Regions from separate parts of the Homo sapiens genome. Here region 2 is linked to region 1. The links are contacts of gene promoters, found by promoter capture Hi-C in blood cells and fetal thymus (Javierre and others, 2016). All regions are on one chromosome and are shown on one strand. The core of a region is centred on a gene start or on the middle of the fragment in contact, and the rest is flanking DNA. Distances in the headings are between cores, read along the strand shown. Region 1 holds the start of IL10RB (interleukin 10 receptor subunit beta). Region 2 holds the start of DNAJC28 (DnaJ heat shock protein family (Hsp40) member C28).

What was found. The method cuts DNA at HindIII sites, captures the fragments that hold promoters and counts their contacts. A CHiCAGO score of 5 or more calls a contact.
Region 2: the fragment with the promoter of DNAJC28 here is called in contact with the fragment with the promoter of IL10RB in region 1 in 11 of 17 cell types (total B cells, M0 macrophages, neutrophils and 8 more); the score reaches 12.4 in total B cells.

The regions. Positions count from the first base shown.
Region 1 is chr21:33,265,101-33,267,627 of GRCh38, forward strand. It overlaps IL10RB (interleukin 10 receptor subunit beta), which reads left to right and starts at 1,267. Exons shown (of 7, transcript NM_000628.5): 1 at 1,267-1,414. The coding sequence starts at 1,366. The region is part of intron 7 of IFNAR2-IL10RB (IFNAR2-IL10RB readthrough); the gene reads left to right. IFNAR2 (interferon alpha and beta receptor subunit 2) reads left to right here. Exons shown (of 9, transcript NM_001289125.3): 9 at 1-564. IL10RB-DT (IL10RB divergent transcript) reads right to left here and starts at 1,160. Exons shown (of 2, transcript NR_038974.1): 1 at 963-1,160; 2 at 532-802. RefSeq lists enhancers at 783-842, 873-942 and a silencer at 1,113-1,522. The HindIII fragment of the contact is 8,663 bases long and covers 1,124-2,527 here.
Region 2 is chr21:33,490,452-33,492,978 of GRCh38, forward strand. DNAJC28 (DnaJ heat shock protein family (Hsp40) member C28) reads right to left here and starts at 1,265. Exons shown (of 2, transcript NM_001040192.3): 1 at 1,151-1,265. The HindIII fragment of the contact is 6,958 bases long and covers 1-2,527 here.

The DNA.
Region 1 (2,527 bases), core at 17-2,516:
TGACTTAGCCTTTCTGAGCCTCAGGTTTTTTGTTTCTGAAGTAAAAGGATTGGACTAGGTAATCTCCAAGATCCTAGGAACCCAGGAGAAAGATGAGAAAATGTACAAGAATGAACACTCAGGTGGAAATGCTGCAATCCTGAGAAGCTCCCAGGATGAATGAAAGGCACAGGACCTCTTACCCCTCACCCCTGCCCCCCTCAAGAGCTGGTTTCTCAAACCTTTCTCTTAGGCCCCTTCAAAGGGGGAAAACTAAAAATTATACAAGTTATAGTTCAAGGACTTTAAATAGATTATTTATATGATTGCTCATAAGGATGAGGCTGTGAGGAGGGAACACCTTATTTAATCTAATGAAATTCCATAGGAAAGAGGCCTTTTGTATATTGAATCAATTTATCTGCCTTCTCAGTGCATCTGTCATATTCTGAAAGATTCTGGGTTGATCTTTTGCGATAACCTCTATGGCTGTGAGTGTGTGTGTGTGTTTGTGTATTTTTTAACATTTTGTATAATGATTGGAGGTTGGTAAAAAGTAACACAACAGTACTTTTTTAATACAAACTTGGTGTGGTCTTGAGTTGTCTTCCATTGGAGAGCGTACGTGTGCCACAGATTGGTGCACCTGCCGGCATCTCTAGGATTGCACCAACTCCCTCTAGCTCTTCTTGGTGGCCTGCAGGGGCCTAGGGCGCATTCACTTCCCTCTGCTTGACTTTACGTGGTGTTCTAGCGTCAGACATCAGGCGATGCCGTGCATTACCCAAGACACTGGACAGCTCCGGATCTTCCCGTCTAACCACTAATCAAGTTAAAAAGAGGAAATTAACGCTTTCTTAGTAGTCTCTGAAAGAAACTAGTTATTTGCGTAAAGATGACTTGGTTTTGTGTTGTTTATCCCTGGGGAGAAGGGTAAAGAAGACCCTCAAACTGGATTTGCTGCTGAAGTGCTTTTAACTCACCTGTGCGGAGAGCGGACTTCAAGAGAGGGCGTGCCGGTGCTCCGGACAAAACCTGGGGAATACTGAAAGCCACCACCACCACCGTCATTCCAGCATGCAGATCTCAGTCCTGGGTTGGTGTTGTAGGGCATTTATTTATTTGACTTGACGGCGCCTTTCAAAGCTTGCGAGGATCCCTTCCTCTTCCTCGTGTGCATCTGCCAAGCCTGTGCCCCGCGCCTCGCGGGTGGACCCGGGCTGGTGGGCGGGGCCTGCAGCGGGGTGGGAGCCCGGTCGCCCGGCCCCTCCCCACCCCGCCCCGCCCATCTCCGCTGGTTCCCGGAAGCCGCCGCGGACAAGCTCTCCCGGGCGCGGGCGGGGGTCGTGTGCTTGGAGGAAGCCGCGGAACCCCCAGCGTCCGTCCATGGCGTGGAGCCTTGGGAGCTGGCTGGGTGGCTGCCTGCTGGTGTCAGGTGAGGGGTCCGCGGGGAGGGGGCGCGCTTGGGAACCGGGAGGCCCCGCGAGATGCCGCCCCTGATCCCATCCCTGGGCGCCCTGCAAGTGACTTAAGAGCCTTCGGGGCCTCGGGAGAGAAGATGCAAACGCCACGGCCGGCTGCTGAGACGCAACTAGGCTGCTGCTGCCGTCGATTCTGTAACAGGAGAAAGCCCCATCCGCGCCCGGATTACAGACCGTCTGGGCCCTAAACTCAGGGGGAGACTCCCGGCGTCTTTTGATTCCCTGTCCTCCTGCAGCTCTCTGCTGGCGGGCGTCTAAATAAAGTAGCTTCCCCAAAAGACCCAAGATCCCACCGTGGCTGTCATCTGACCCTTCTGGAGACTATCAGTTCAAGTGGAGGCCCCCACCAGTCCCCGAGTGCCCTGACAGCCCTCCCTGACCCCAAGTCTGCCCCCTCAGTGCCAGCCCTCCCTACAGATGTGCCTCCCATCACCCGCTGCACCTCCCCTCCTTCCGGTTCAGGCCCGAGCACCCTGAAATCTGGATTCTGTCCCCCAGCGCCCCAGCTCCATGGCTTCTAAACCTAAATCCATTGAAACCTTTTCTGTCCTCTAAATTGACTGCCTAGGTTCCAATAACACCATGGTCACCTCCTTCCTTTCTCATGAACTCTTCCCTGGCCTTCCGGGATACCCCTCCGGTTTCCCGCCCTGTCAGGCTGTCTCTGCTTGGGACCCTCCTGCTCTGTCAGGTTTCTATGTAGCTAATTGTGATGCCCAAGGCCTTTTCTCTCCTTCCCTGGCACTGTTCCTTTGGGGGATTTCAGCCAAACCCTGGCATTAAACACGGGCTATAGGCCCATGACTCGCACATTTATATCTCTCTTGGTACCAGTTGGGTGATGGGTGGTGGTTTATTATAGTCTTCTACTTTTCTACTTGCATGTAGGTTTCAAATTTTCTTTTCTTTCTTTCTTCTTCCGTTTTTTTTTTTGTTTGTTTGTTTTTTTGTTTTTTTGTTTTTTTTTGAGACAGGGTTTTGCTCTGTTGCTGTGGCCCAGGCTGGAGTGCAGTGGCTTGATCTTGCCTCACTGCCACCTCCGCCTCCCGGGTTCAAGCGATTTTCCT
Region 2 (2,527 bases), core at 15-2,514, 230 kb after region 1:
AAAGTGGAAGCTGATGAAGTTTAGTGTTAACATATTGTGGGGCCAGGCACGGTGGCACACGCCTGTAATCCCAGTACTTTAGGAGGCCGAGGTGGGTGGATCACCTGAGGTCAGGAGTTCGAGATCAGCCTGGCTAACATGGCAAAACCCTGTCTCTACTAAAAATACAAAAATTAACTGGAGGTTGCAGTCCCAGCTACTCGGGAGGCTGAGGCAAGAGAATCGCTTGAACCCGGGAGGTGGAGGTTGCAGTGAACCGAGATCGTGCCACTGCACTCCAGCCTGGGCAACAGAGTGAGACTCTGTCTCAAAAAAATATAGATAGATAGAATCTGGATTCTACCCCTCACTAACTAACCGTATATTTTACAAGTGGAAAGTTCTTAGAGATCATCTAATCCAATCTTCTCATTTAATGAGAAAACGTAGGTCCGGAAGGTTAAGCAATTTAACCAAGTCCCATAACAAGGTGTAAGCAAAATGGTTAGGGGTGGGCACAGTAAAAAAGGAGGCTTGCTTAACTGTCTATACCTCCAGCCGATTATAAACTGCACGAGAGTCTGCATCATCTCAAGAAGTCTTCTCATAAGACGACTTATGGACAAGGTACGTACCTGGTCTGATACTGGATTGAATAGAATCAAGTGTCCAAAAGACTTTAAGCTCCACAGCTCGCTAGGAAGGAGCTATCTGCCAGAGGCCAGAAAAACCATGATGAATTGTGAGGCCTCCCAACACGTTTGCTGCTATTGCAATAACATGGTCTCGAAGAGGAGGAAGACTTGTACACTGACAATGGCCAAAAAATACTGGAAGTGGCTTAATTGGAATTGGGATATATAAACGCTAAAACGGAGCTCCTGAGACCCCCTATTTTCTAGGCAATCGGTGCCAACGGTCTGGGAGCCGGCTGCGAAGGTGGTTATCATGGCAAGGGAGGTCGGTCCTGCCCCGCCCCCTCCTCACCTGCGCAGACCTGGGGTAGGGGTTCCGCGGCTCCCGCCCCCCTGCCGCGCCTCTGCGCATGCGTGCGCGGTCCGCCCTTCACTGCGGGTGTCCCTCCCACCGCCTCCAGCTGGTGCCTCCGCCGGGCTAGACCATTTGCCACTTTACACTGAGGGGCTCGGGGGTACGGAAGGCAGAATCGTACCTGATTGGGACAGGTGACCTTACCAGGAAAACGGACAATCTTCCGCCAAACGAACTTTACCCCGGAGGACCCAGGCAGGGCACCTCGGGAGCCTTCGTCCCGACCGGGGACCACCAGCTCCACCTCCGTCCCCGCCCCGAGCGGAGGTGGTCCGGCCGATTGGGATTGTGGGAGATGTAGTTCGCTAGAAGGGGCGATGTGCGCCTGCGCCTCTCGGGAGGGACTTAGGGGGCGTCGAAAATGATGTAAAGACCGAGTTGGCGGCGTGGGGAGTTGTGGCTCGGAGGGCGAGGGTAACTTTCTGGGGGCAGGGGAAGGCAAGGCTGTTTCCCCGGAACGGGACCGGAACAGGTTTATTCGGGGTCACAGAAGGAGTCACCTGCGCAGATACATGAGGCTTAAAACCTGCCCTTTTATTAATTCAAGTACTGTTGAGGGGCTGGCGACAGGCCAGAGGACAAAATCAAAATAGGGATCTTCTGGCTTGGAGTTCAACCACTGACGTGGGGACTGAGCATTTCCCCTCTCTGTACAGGAAGCAAGTTTTTTAACAAGGAAAAAGAAAAAGGATAAAAAGAAAAAGGCAGAGGCTTGGGAGTTTTCAGATCTGGGTTGAAAATCCTGTTTCTTCTGCTTGCACCTTAGGCAAGATACCTGCAAAATGAGAGTTGCAATAAATAGTAAACTATAGTAAATAGTATGCCATTGTGCTAAGTGCTTTATGTATATTCTCATTTACTTTTTTTTTTTTTTTTTTGAGACAGAGTCTCGCTCTGTCGCCCAGGCTGGAGTGTGGTGGCGCGATCTCGGCTCGCTGCAACCTCCACCTCCCGGGTTTAAGCTATTCTCCTGCCTCAGCCTCCCGAGTAGCTGGAATTACAGGCGCGCACCACCATGCCCAGCTAATTTTTTTGTATTTTTAGTGGAGACCAGGTTTCACCATGTTGGCCAGGCTGGTCTCGAACCCCTGAGCTAAGGTGATCTGCCTGCCTCGGCCTTTCAAAGTGCTGGGATTACAGGCATTCATTTAATCTTTACAACAGCCCTCTGAGATAAATGCTGTTATTTTCCCTATTTTACATATAATGAAATAATAATTGTATCAACTTCATTGACTTTTTTAGGGGGAGAATTACACAATGTATGTAAACCACTTGGCACTGTGCCTCGCACATTAAGCAATATTTTTTGTTATGACTGTGTCTCCTAAAAGGAGCCAGAAATAGGTATTAGCCTCCTCAGCTTCTACATCATAAACATTAGAATCATTTATTGCCATCTATGTAGGAACACAGAAAAAGATACAGTATAAACTCTGATTCTGAGGGCTTTAGTTATAAGCAAACAATCAACAAAATAACTCATGTGAAAGAAAAT